Linked DNA regions of Homo sapiens: region 2 is linked to region 1. Evidence: promoter capture Hi-C in 16 types of primary human blood cells and fetal thymus (Javierre and others, 2016). All regions are on one chromosome and are shown on one strand. Each heading gives the region's core, a stretch centred on a gene start or on the middle of the fragment in contact. The rest is flanking DNA. Distances are from core to core; before and after follow the strand shown.

Region 1 (7,264 bases), core at 2,792-5,291:
TCTTTCAACCCCTTTCTGTTTGCCTGGCTACTTCCTGTCTATCCTATAAGCCACAGTTCAGACTCCAATTCCTGTGGGAGCGTTCCCTGACCTCTCAGACCGAGCAGGGAGTGCTTCTCTGCCTGTATCAGCACAGTGTCCACTACGTCGTGATTGGCTGCTTCAATTTGCCTCCTCCTTACACTGAACTCCATGAGGGCAGGAATCGTGTGTGATTTGTCTCATTGACACAGGGGTTGCAAAGATAGTGGAAGCACCATGAGATGCTTGTGGTGTCCAGAGAGGAATGAAAAAAATAGACGAATGACCGATCCCAAGTGAGAATGGGACTCCTGTAATATGCTGGGAACAAACTCCTCTGGGCCACTGCTCCTGGCTGATGGGTGCCCAGTGTGTGAGGCAGAGGGGGTAGCAGTGAAAGTGATCTTTGGCAACCACCTTGTCCAGGACCCCTGGCGGCCCTCAGAGAGCCCAGCTGGTGGCCTCTGGGTACCCAGCTCCCCTCCATTCACAAGTCTCAGGCCTGACAGCTGCTCTAATTCTATCATCCTACCCCCATCCAGCCATGTCCTTCCGGCAGTCCAAAGCAGCATACCACCCAGCGGCCAGCCCAGAGAGAAGGGCTTTTCTGTACTGCATGGGGCTAGGCGAAGGCTTGAGCAGAGCAGACAGGCTGTTCCATCTCCCAACAGGCCACAACAGGTGAGCGAATGGCTATCTACTTGAGAGTGGGCATCCCTGAGTCCTGGGGCAGTGATAGTAACCATGCATCCTAGACCAGTTTCACTGGATTCGTCCAGTGGCTGAATCTGCACGGTCTGCTCGACTACTGCTTGATGCTCGATTGACGCTGATGCTGTAGTGAGAAGAAAAGGTGGCCCTTGTCCTTTCCTTTGTATCCAAAACCCTCCCTTCTACCTCCCTGCTTTATTTTACAATGAAGCACAGAAGTCACCTCTTTCAGAAATTCTTCTGGGATCCCCTTCTCTGGGTAGTCCCCATCCCCTCACTCCCACCCTGTGCTTTTCTTTGCCACACTGTGTTGCGAGTGTTGGTGTGCCTGCCTCCACTGCAAAGACTTTGCTTTCCTGGACATCAGGGCCTGTGACATGCTCTGCTGTCCTGTGCCTGCCGTGGTGACCAGCCCGTGAGGGAAGCAGTATGTTCAGGGCAGTGGTTAACTAAAATCCTCCCTCTGCACTTCCCCAAGGTCACACAGCAAGAAATCCTGCAGTGGTTTTCTTATCTGTAAAATGAGGCTTGAAAGGGTGTTGTGAAGATTAAGTCAGCTAATGTAACGTTTGAATAGCATCTGGCATGACAGTAAGCACTTGATGAGTACTGCATTTGCTAGTATTACTAGGTGATCAATAAATGTTTCATGTGTTAATGGATGAAGAAAGGAAGGAAAGAGTGAAGATAATTAGTACAAGCCAGCACATGCCAGATTTGTGGTGACCCAAAATAAAGGTTCGATGTGATCTGTGAGTTCCACAATAGTGAGTGGGGGTAAGGATTATTCTTAAGGAGCAAAGTTCCATGCAGTGTGCCGGGGAGCAGGTCTTGGGCAGTAATGAGAAAGGCAGATGCCATCTGAAGGTCTCCTTTCCTATTGTGAGTCTTTCCTGCAGATTAAGAGTCCTTGAGATTTTTAAAGGCACAACCTGACATTTCTCTGCAACAATGGTGTTTTCTCCCATTAGTGGTCCTTCCAAGGCCACTCCCTGCTGACTACCCCCTCTTTCCCATCATTCCAAACAGCAGACTCAGATACCAATCCTGACTGCCTTCAGATGAATAGACAAGGTGGGGGGATGAGTCATCCAGGCTCCAGATGCCTATTCCCAGACATGGGCATCCCTTCAACTACAATCCTAACAGACCTCAGCTATCTTGTTTCTGCACAGACTACCAGCAGAGAAGCTGGCAGAAAGCAGGACTGTGGGCTTCAACATCAGAAGGCCCAGGGCTCAAGTCTCATCTCTTACAAGTCTCTTCCTCTGTCTGAGCCTCAGTCACTGCATAACATGGGGTTACTTATCCCTCCCTCACTGTGCTGTGCTGTAAGATGACTAGCACAGTGCTGGACACACAGCAGACCAGCGGTAAAGACCCTTGGTAAATGGTGGGAGGTGGTGGGTGAGGACCCCATCAATAAGCAAGGTGGCTCCTGGGATGAACATAAGCCACTTCTGAACCCAAGACTATAAAGGGAGAACAAGAGTACCTTGACCTCCCAGCAACCAGATAATGTTGATGGAGGCCTGGGGCTGGCCTTCCGGCATCTGCTGTGGCAGTACTAATTGGGATGTCCTGGGTCAGGAGTTTCCCACCCTTGTGGAAGGGAGCTCTTGGCCCTCCCTCTTCCCCCACTGCTGTTTCCTCTGGTCTGGGCTGGAGGGGCCCTGACTTACTGAATAGGTGTCAGCTGCAAAGTTCAAAGAATGCTCAGTAGGCATTGGATGACAGGGTGGGGCAGGGGATGGCCAGGAGCCAAATCCCAGCTCTGGGGCAAGGATGGGCAGATCAGGGGGCTTCCAGCAGAGATCAAGGGGCCCCCAGCTTCCTGGAGTGACTTCACACTAAGTCATACTGAAAGTTTACACTTCAAAGGGGTTACCTGTGTTTCTTTTTTCTTTCCTCCTTTCTTTTCTTTTACCCTCCACCAGCCCAGTCAGCCAGAGAACGGCATCAACAGACATGCTTTGAACTCCAGACCCTCCCTAGCTGTGCTACTCTGGACATGTTACTTCATCTCTTTGAGACTGTTTCTTCATCTGTAAAATGGGCATATTCATATCTCCCTCAAAGGCTGTGTGAGGCTTAGGTGAAGTCATGTGCATAAAGCACCGGGCAGAGTGCCTGAACGCAGTGGAGACACAGCACATGGCAGCCTTCATAACCATCACCTTCCAGTGTAGATAGAGCAGGATGCTTCATGAGTTGGTGCTGCCCACCATGGGGGCTGAGAGTGGGAAGAGTTTTCAGTCCCTCAGGCCCTTGCCCCCTCTCGGATGAACTAGCCCAGCCCTTGGTCAGGCCCCCTGGGCAGGAGACACCAGGTGGACGCGAATCCTCACCATGCACTTGCGGTCATCTATGCCTGTCAGATCCTCCTCAAACTCCTTCCCAACCTGGAAGTCCATGATGTAGTTCCTAAAAGTGCTCAGCGTGCGGATGATCATATGGTCACCGTCCTGCACGATCTCTTTGTCTGGCTTCAGCAAGTTGGCGATTTTGCGCAAGGCCACATTGACGTCTGCGGTGGGGGTTGAACGGGGAGAGAGAGAGCGCCAGAGAGTTGGCAGGGAAACTCAGAGAACCGTTCCCAAGGTAGCGGGGCCCCAGGAGCCCTCTCCGCCCGCGAACACTGTTAGGGTTCCCGCTGGCTTTGCGTTGTCTCTGCGCACAGCCTGCCTGTGCCTCCCCTGCCGCCCCCAACAAAGTTTTCTGCTCTTATGTTAACCGTTTAAAAACAAAAAGTAGCAAACCAAGCCCCAGATTTACTAATGAAATTACCCACCTCCAGGGCCAACGAGCAGACATTTGCCACCGGTTAACCTAACAACCCCGAATTCTCCAATCTGCAGCCTGGGGGCTGCCCTGGGAGCGGTGGCCGAGGACGCCCTTTCTGGCGTCCGGGGGCACCGGACCGCGGCTCGCCGGGATGGAGGCAGGCAGGCAGCGTCTCGGGAGGGCTCTAGGGAGCGGCCCGGAGCTGCTCGGCGGGGCGCCCAGGGCGCAGCGGGCAGCGCTTACCGAGGGCGCGCAGGTACTCCTCGAAATTCTCGTTGACCAACATCTTCCAGTACCCAGTGAAGTCGACTGGCATTTCGGGGAGTGACTGGAGCCAGTTGGCCACAAGCGGGCGGGACGGCTGGAGACTGCCGGGACAGCGGCTGCCGGTGCTACGCGGGTGGTGGGCGGCCCGGAAATGAGCGCCCTCCGGGGACAGGGGGCTCTGCGGGGCGGCGACAGCTGGATTCCCAGCGCGCACAAAGCCTGCGGGAGGATCCATTGTAGCGGTCGCTCCTCCCCGCTTAGCGAGGGCGGGCGCAGGGGCGGGGGATGTCGAAGGGTCAGGTTTGTCCAGGCCGCGCCACCTTCGTTTCAGACGTTCAGTTCGTTTCCCCTACAAAGGAAGAGGAGACCGGAGACGGGACGTTTGCTTTGTTGGCCGAACTCTTCGGCTGCTGGGGATTTCCTTCAAACGCCATTAACTTCTCACACTCAGCAGCCACTCGGGAGTTGGGAAACAATCTCCTGGGGTTTGTGCTGGCGTGATTAAGGAAAGAGGCCACTTACAGGCCTTTGTCTAAAGCCTCGCGCCGGTGGTGGCTGGGGTCAGGAAAGCTGGGAGGTTCAACTACGGGCGAGAAAATTGGGGCACTTTCCACGTCTCTCCCGAAAATAAAAGAAAGGATGCCGGGCACGGCGGCTCACGCCTGTAATCCCAGCACTTTGGGAGGCCGAGGCGGGCGGATCACCTGAGGTCAGGAATTCGACACCAGCCTGGGCAACACGGTAAAACCTCGTCTCTACTAAAAATACAAAAAATTAGCCGGGCGTGGTCGCGGGCGCCTGTAGTCCCAACTACTCGGGAGGCTGAGGCAGGAGAATAGCTTGAACCCGGGAGGAGGAGGTTGTAGTGAGCCGAGATCGTGCCACTACACTCCAGCCTGGGCGACAGAGTGAGACTCTGGCTCAATAAATAAATAAATAAATAAGTAAAATAGTTGATGTTATTTGAAGTGCATGTGGCTAAAAAAGCCTTCTGGGTGATTCTGATGCACAATCAACTTTGAGATCCACTGCTGCTTTATGCAAATGTAAGCAATATACTGTTTATTAATGTTTCCTCCCGTTTCACCTAATGGCAGCACTGTACTCCACGGTGTTCTGGACTTTGCTTTATTCACTTAATATATTCTGGAGACTTTTCCATAGCTGTACATAGAAAGTATCCCCATTATTTTACGGAGTATTCCATTGCTTATCCAGCTTGTCCCCTGATGGACAAACTATATTGTTTCTGATCTTTCACTATTAAAAGCAGTACTGCAATGAAAATCTTTGATCACATCTCCTTTGTCACCTGCGTGGGTATGTCATTGTGGTTTAACTGCATTTGCCACCAAGTAGATGACATAATCACATGGGCTGACTTTTTGACCCTCTTTTTGACTACCTCTTTTAAATCGCTTTTTGCACAAATCACAGCCTAAGTGACAGCAGATAACATTTTCTTCCCCTCTAGCACCACCTTCCCCAGGGTGCCTCCCTGGGGCTCACATGTGTTCTCACAGTGCAGGCTGAATTAGGAAAAGGAGCCTCTTCCTCAGGGTAGAGACAGCTTCCTCCCAGGCAGCAACTTGGATTTCAGCGCTTCTCACCCTCTTTCCCTAGACTAGGATTTGTTTCTTAATCTCTGTGCTACTGACATTCTAGGCCACATAAGTCTTTGTTACAGGAGCCTGTCCTGTGTACTGTAGGATATTTAGTGGCATCCCTGGCCTCTACCCATTAGATCCCAGTGGCACCCAGACACAAAGATGTCGCCAGACATTGTCAAAGGCACTGGGGTGTGGGTGCTGGGTAAACCAGCCCTGGTTGAGAGCCAGCTCTAGGCCCTTGTTTCCCACTGCTTCTTTGTCTGGCTCTGGATGGTTAGGTCATCAGTTGTTCACACAAGCACTGGCTCTGTGTCCCTCCCTAGCCAGCCCAGGGCTCATCTTGGCTGGGCACTCAGGGCAACCTATCCCAGTCCTTCCAACCTGAAGGTGCAATAAGACACCTCGCAAGGATGGATGGGGCCTGGCCCAGGTTCTGTAAGGCATCCCACCAGGGCCAGCCATGCTTTGGGCTTTCTTGTTATCCTGACTTACCAGAATGGAGCATTGGTCAAAGGCTTAAGCAGTGAACTGGCCATTCCTTGGTCACTTCCAACTAGTCTAAACTCTTCTCCCTGCTCTCTGATGCCTCCAGCCCAGCTAGCCGGATTTCTCATCCTCCCCAAACTTCTCCCTTTATGCTGAATCACCTGAGATGGTTTATGCCAAATGCTCAGCACAGTGCCTGGCACACAGCAGAGGCCAGTCTGTTCTGACTCCCTGCCATGCTTGGAATGGCCCTTTCGTGCTCGAGGCAGAGGCCTGCCCACCTCTCCAGTCCTTCTTGTCCATCCCAAAGAACCACAAGCTTGCCACTCCTCCCTCTTCTGACCACGTTGGATAACTTCTGCTCACCTGATCTCACTTTTCTGACCTGGTCAGCTGAACATATAGCACTTAATTCAGCTAGTTTCACTCAGTTTCTGTCTGTCCACCTCTTTGTCTAGTCTTCCAAATGGGTCAGTACGCTCCTGCCCTTCTGGGTCTCCTCCCAGGCACAGCCCCTGGTGGCTGTGCTATTTCTTGCAGCAAAGGGTAGGCTGCATGTGTAGGCTTTAGAGGCAGAATGCCTGTTCTTGCTAGCTGGGTCACTGTCTACCAGAGTGATTTGGGGTAAGATACTTGATCTCTTTGTGGCTTAGTCACCACATCTGTGAAATGGGGACACTCTGACTACCTCTCAGGGTGCTGAGAAGCAAAGGATGAGGAATCTACAGGGCGTGGCACTGAGTACTGTTCCAGATCCACTGCTGTTTGAGCCAGAGGGGCCCTAGAAGGGAGGGAAAAGACAAGGGAGAGCCTGGGTGCTGGTTTGTGCCCCTCTTCTGGGGCTTTAAGATCAGTCTAATGAGTTGAAATGGGAAATGCTCTTCAGAAGCATCAGCTACCATCAAAGTTATCCTTCCTCAGCCCATGCTGTTGTGCTTGATTTAATCCATTTGGTTCTCGATTTGGAAACAAAAAGTATTTTTTGGAGCTCCTTTCTGTCTGGGTTAATCTTCCTTGGAATGTGTGAAGCAAAGAAAGAGTAACTGAACACAGTATGTAAAGAAGAAGGAGGGTGTCTGTGTGGGCTTGCAATCAGTGAGGGCTCCCTGGACGGGGTGAGGCTCTAGCTGGAGCTTGAGGACAGCCAGGATCAGAGAGATGAGGAGGAGGAAGGATAGTCCAGGTGACCAAGGAGACAGGTGAGCAATGGAGTGCCAGAGTGCCAAAGCAACGGCCAACTTGTAAATGACTGAGAGAAAGAGATGTCAGTATACTCAGGCACCTCTAATGGGGTTCGCTTTATTCAATAGCTTTAAAGAAGAGCAGCAGAGATCTACAACCAATTCTTGGGGGCTCAAATTGCTCCCAAGGCCACAAAGAAGAGC
Region 2 (6,400 bases), core at 1,607-4,106, 110 kb before region 1:
ACCTACCAGAATAGGGACTCTGCTCTGTATTAACCTATAAATAAAGTATGTTGCTTGTGCTCTTGAGCTATCATCTGGGATTCATACCTCCTAATAAATGCCACTGAATATTATGAATAAAGGTATATGTGCACAGGAGTGTGTGCATGAGTATGAGTGTGTATGTTTGTTCCAAGCAGAGATAGCAGCATTTTCCAAGGTCTGGAGATAAAATGAGAATGTGCATGTGGAGAACTACAAACCATTCATGGGAAAGTACACAAATGGGCTGTTTTTTCAGGTCGGGTTCCCAATGATACCGTCTTTTTTCTATTACACAGTGACGTGTGTAAGGCACCAAATCATGATGCTAGGAAAAACATCTTGATATGTAATGCCATACCCACCATCTAGGTAATGGTACTGCATATCTTTGGTCCTTCCGCATGTGCCAGAGGGTGTGCTGCCATTAACCATGAAAGGAACCCTTCAGCATGTTTATGAGTGTGGATGAGAGGTATTGCCCCTTTTTCCTCCAGATGGTGAGCAGGTTGAAATGACAGCTCAGCCACTCCACCACTAATAAAACTTCCTGACACTCTGTAGTCCTTTATGGACTATGACTCAGTTCAAATTGCTAGACTTACGGAATGTAGAATTTTAGGCCAAAGAGGTTCTGAGTGGGGCCAATTGCCTAAAGGTACAGATGGTGAGACTGAGGTGTAAAGAGGCAACGATGCCTTGCCTAAGTGTCCTCAGCAGGCCTGTGACTGAGTCTCTGGGGCTCCAGGTCCCCAGCCCAGTGTTTTCTGGCTACTTCACCGTGTTTCATGGCTCTCTGGAGTAGCCTCCTTTCAGGAAAGCACTACCTGCCCCTTTCGCTCACTCAACTTTCAAAACCCAGCTCAAATACCCGCTGAATTGACCTTCCCCATGGTAATTCTTATTTATTTGGCAATTAAATAAGTGTTGTCTAATGCCCTATCTTCTAAGGTTATTCTGTCACCTTAAATATTTTTTTTTCAAAAAAGACTTAAATTTTAAAGTCTTTATTATCTTTATTATCTTATTCAATAAAACTATTAAATTTTTGAGGATAGGCATCATAATTTGTGTGTGTGTGTGTGTGTGTGTGTGTTCCCTCAACAGTACCAAGCACAGTGTCTTTTACTAGTAGGTTGCCTCTAGCAGGTAAATAATAAATATTAGTTGATTTGATACTGCTAGCACAAGTTCATTGCCGTGTGAAATGTGATGCAGAGGCAGTATAAAGTTAATAACATGGACTCAGGAATCAGCAGGCCTGGTTTTGACAAGTTGTGTGACTTTGGAAAAGTTGCTCAAGTTCTGAGCCTCAGTTTTCTCATCAGTGATGTGGGTTAATGACACTAATCTCTTACAGGATTGACAAGAGGATCACATGGGATTATATATACACATTTATATGTATATATAGCTATCTGTATATTACTAGATATAGTTATTATTATAGTAATATAGTAATAATTACTGTATTATATATTATAGTAATAACTATAACTATGTATAGTAATATATAGATATAGCATATGAAACCCACACATATATATGGCCACAGCTATAATCCTTCAGTTGATGGCAGCTATTACTACTATTAACGTCATGAGTTGGAAATCAGGCCAATTAACTCCATCCATTGAGTTCTATAGGCTCAAACTAAATCTTCAACAAATATAGTCATCTCAACACCTGCAGAAGGGTTAGAGAGTCCAGGCAAAATCATGTGGGTAGGCACCCATGCAAATTCTCACCCACTGTTATTCCACCATACTCCCACACTCATAAAACAGTAGCATATAACACGGGTGCCACGTACCATGGTGATGTGTATTTGATACACAAAAATTATGTGAATTATGCATGTGTGTACATATGTGTATGTGCACACATTTGCAGGATAGTACTCTCCAAAAACAAAAACAAAAACAAACAAAACAAAACTCTTCCACCCCAGCCAACTCAAACAAGTAGTCCTCTTGCCCAATAGTTGTTAGCCATATTCTCTCCTTGCATAAATATAACCACTAGGAGGCGCCTTAATCCTTCTCTTTAGCAGCCTTTCTGCTCGTTAACACCAGGGAGTCAGATCTGAAAGTCTTTAAGTGAATCTTTCTCAACCCACTGCAGAGTGTGCAAATCATTTCCTCAGCTGATTCAGATGTATTTTGATGTGCTGGGAAACCTGAACATTCTCTCACGCTGTGGAGATTAATTACCTTGAAATATTCATTGGATTAAATGTATTTAAACATGTACTGTTTAAAGCTCAGTGCTGCAAAATGCCATCCTCAAGATATATATTACGGGCATTAAATAATTAACTTTAGTGTGTGAGAGGAGAGGGGGAGGGAGAGGAAGAGGGAAGGTGGGGGGAGAGGAGAGAGAGAGAGAGAGAGAGAGAGAGAGAGAGAGAGAGAGAGAGAGAGGGAGAGAGAAACACATGCTTATTTAGTGCTAGGCCAGTGGTGAGACTGAGAGCAACCAAATCTAAAGCTTTCCATAAATCAGCTAAATCCTGGCTTCACCTGTTACTAGAACTATGTGACCTTGGGCAAAATACTTCATCTCTCTAAGCCTCCTCTGTAAAATGAGAATGACAGTATCTCAGAAGCATGAATTTTAGATACTAATACAGGGAAAGCACTGGGTATCCTGCTTAAGACATAGTAGCACTCACACAAAGCAAGACTCGGCTTCCTCTTCCTCTTCCTCTTCTTCTTCTCTCCTTTAGACCTAGATACGAGGACTTGATCTTGGCTTTGCCATTCTCCTTCCTTCTCTGTGCCAAAGTGTTGTCGCTCAGCTCTGGGAACAGCAGCAGTCCATGCGTGTGAGGTGTACTGTCTCTAGAGACAAACTACCCAGGCCCATGGCCCAACTCCATCCAGCACGTACCAGCTGTGCGACCCTCAGCGCCTCAGCTCCTTTATCTGCAAAAGGGGATAATAACAGTACCTTGCCCCACAGGGCTGCCGTGAGGGTCTAAGGAGTTACCATACATATAAATTCATGAGAACAGTACCTGCCACATAACCAGTGCTTTCCAGGGGTTGGCTATTATTATTTTAGGTTCAATTCAGTTTTCATGTGTATTCAACTCCTCAAACTGTATTTCTCCTCGTGCACCATCCTACTTGTCTCAGTGTCACGCTTAGTTCTTAAATCTTTCAGCAGCTGTATGCTCTAAGCTTTAGCCTCCCCTCTTTCACTTACCCAAATTTACCTCTTCTTAGGATCCTGGTTTATGGCCTCTGTAGGAATTGAAGCAAACCAACTCATCTTAACATTGTACTAAGAGGCTACAGCTGAATATAAGCTCTAGTGGGGCAGAGGTGCTGTCTGCCTTATCCACTACCTATCCCTAGTACCTAGTAGGTCCCTGAACATAGAAAGTGCTCAATAAATACATTACGTGACTCTCTGGACTTTCAGAAACACAAAATATTCGTTGAAAGTAATGGATTACCTGAGGTCAGGAGTTCGAGACCAGCCTAGCCAACATAATGAAACCCTGTCTCTACTAAAAATACAAAAATTAGCCGGGCGTAGTGGCAGACGCCTGTAATACTAGCTACTCAGGGGGCTGAGGCAGGAGAATTGCTTGAACCTGGGAGGCGGAGGTTGCAGTGAGCGGAGATCACGCCATTGCACTCCAGTCTGGGAGGCAGAGTGAGACTCTGTCTCCAAAAAAAAAAAAAAAGAAAAAGAAAGTAATGTGTTTTGAATGGTGGGATTTCAGGCGTCTTGACAGGCTGCTGGAGGGGAAAACATTGAAGGTAGGGGACTTTCATCTGTGTCCTTCAGACCACAGTGGCTAGGAGACCTTCAACTTTACTTACACATGTGGCTATTTTTTTTTTAACTTTTTCTTTTGAAACAAATTTTGACTTACAGAAAAGGTGCAAAAAATGTACAGTGAGTACTCATATATGCATTGCTTGGCTTCCCTAAATGTTAAAGGAACATCTTAAATAACCATAATACAGTGATCAAAACCATGAAATTAACATGGGTACTATTAGTGATGTTATGAGTGTTATTAATTACTATTAATCAAGCAACAGGCCTAATGTGAATTTCACCAGTTCTTTCATTGATTGGATCTCACATCGCATTCAGTTGCCATGTCTCCTTGGTCTCCTCTAATCTGTGACATTTCCTCAGTCTTTCCAGTCTTTCCTTGTCTTTTGTGACCCTGCCACTTTTAAATAAGGCAAGTCAGTTATATTGCAGAATAACTGTCAATCGGGGTTTGCTTGATGTTTTCTCACTATTGAATTGAGGTTATGCATTTTTGGCAGGCATACAACGGTGATATGACCTCAGTCTATGGATCAGGGAGTACATGATGTCAATAAGTCTTATTACTGGTGATAATTAACCTTGATCATTTGGTGAAGGCAGTATCTGCTGGCTTTCTTCACTGTAAAATTACCATTTTTCTCTTCATAATTAGTGAATATCTTGAAGGACGTATTTGACACTATGCAACTATTTTGTTTCTCCTCAAAATTTCTTATACTAATTTGAGCAGCCATTGGTAGATTTTTGCCTGTAATAATTATTACTGTGGTGTTTGCCTAATGGTGACTTTTAAAAATATTTTCCCATTTCATCTACATTTATTAATTGGAATTCTTCTGTAAGTAAGAACTATCCCTTCTTCCCAATTTATTTTTGGAATTTTTATTTTTATATCAGTAAGGAATCGTGGATATTTATTTTATGAATTATAATGCAATACTTTTCTTGTTTACTTATTTCTCAATTCATTCCGGTTTTGGCCAATGGGGTTGCCTTCAATTTTACTGTTGTGTTCTCTCATGGGCTCCTATCCTTTTTTGAGCCCTTCCCTAAGGCTGTATTTGCTAACCATGTACATCACCTGGGCCTGTCCCCCATTATGCATGGTGGGTTGGTGGGGAAGTCCAAGGAGGCAGACAACTGGTAGGCAGTGGTTGGGCTTTGAAGCCAGGTCTCCTGAATGCTTGTCCTGCTCTCTGCCAAGGCACCATTCTGCCTCTCCACACATCACAACTTTTATTTACCATGAAATTCACATAATTCCTCCCTGCTCTGCTTCCCTGGGCTCAGCCAGTCACTGACAGGCTAGGAGGCTAGGAAACAATGAGACACATCCAGAATATGGACTATTTACAAGAAAATAGCCCTGTACTGTTTAAAAAGTCAATGTCATAAAAACATAAAACAAAAGTAGTGAGGATGTTGTCAATTAAAAGAGGCTAAAGAGACATAACAATATCAATCTCTTGCAGTTGCTATGGGCTCAATTATGTCCCTCTTCAAAATTCATGTTTAAGTCCTAACCCCCAGTAGCTCAGAGTGTGAGCTTCTTCAGAAATAGAGTCATTGCAAATGTTATTAGTTAAGATGAGGTTGTAATGAGGTAGGGTGGACCCCTAATCTACTATGACTGGTGTCCTTATACAGATTGACAAAGTGTCAATCTCTGATGGGATCCTGCTTCTTTTCAAAAAGTCATTTTAGAGACAATCAAGGATATTTGAATTTAAACTGGATATTATAAACTAGGAATTATTAATTTTCTTAAGTATTACTTTATTATTAGTAGTATTATTATTGTAGTAGTATTTAATAATTAGTATTATTAAAGTATTTAGTATGACTAAAGTATGTAAGTATTGCCCTTTCTTAGGTATTACCATTCTGTAGGAGAATATCCTTGCTTTTAGGAGATACGTGTTTAAGTGTTTAGGGGTGAGGTGTACTGATGTCTGCAACTTATTCTCAAATAATTCTGAAAAATGTGTAGTCTACTGAGTACAGTAAATGTGGCAAAATGTTAACAGTTATTAAATCTAGATGTATGATATAAGTGTTCCTCTTTCAGCATTCTGTATCTTTGAAATTTTTTAAAATGAAAAGCCTGAGGAAAAATTATTCCTATAATCTTATTTTATATCCTCTATTTATTGAGGAAAACCTCCCTTCTTTTATTTCCATAAAAATGACAAAGGCCAGTTCCATCCAACTGAAATGGTCACACAACCCAGAGTTCAGGAACTCACAGGAGCAGTATAATGGGTATTAAGCCTGGATCTGTAGAAGATGGTCAGGTGTGGACAGTAGGGCTCCAGCCCCTGCATAGCTGGGCTTAAGTCCCAGCTTCTTTACTTTTTCCTCATTTAGTGGTCTTGGGCAAAGCACTTAAAACTTCTGGGCCTAGTTTCCTCAACTGTAAAATAAGGATAGTAATATGTTATTTGTTGTGAGAATCATATGTTACATTTGTACATGTTATGTAATATTTTTGTGTGTAACACCTACATGTAAAGCAATAGGCCCACCACAAGCAGTAGCTGTTGTGTTAAGTACCAAGGGCCATCTTGTGAGCCCCTGC

The links. The method cuts DNA at HindIII sites, captures the fragments that hold promoters and counts their contacts. A CHiCAGO score of 5 or more calls a contact.
Region 2: a contact is called between a fragment that was not itself captured here and the fragment with the promoter of RBP1 in region 1, in 1 of 17 cell types (M2 macrophages). The highest score is 6.0, in M2 macrophages.

The regions. Positions count from the first base shown.
Region 1 is chr3:139,535,701-139,542,964 of GRCh38, forward strand. RBP1 (retinol binding protein 1) reads right to left here and starts at 4,042. Exons shown (of 4, transcript NM_002899.5): 1 at 3,760-4,042; 2 at 3,081-3,259. The coding sequence starts at 4,018. The region is part of intron 3 of COPB2-DT (COPB2 divergent transcript); the gene reads left to right. RefSeq lists enhancers at 1-72, 1,918-3,117. The HindIII fragment of the contact is 6,847 bases long and covers 1-6,196 here.
Region 2 is chr3:139,425,690-139,432,089 of GRCh38, forward strand. All of the region lies in intron 3 of COPB2-DT (COPB2 divergent transcript), which reads left to right. Among named protein-coding and RNA genes, the nearest start is that of COPB2-DT, 39 kb to the left of the region's middle. The HindIII fragment of the contact is 695 bases long and covers 2,510-3,204 here.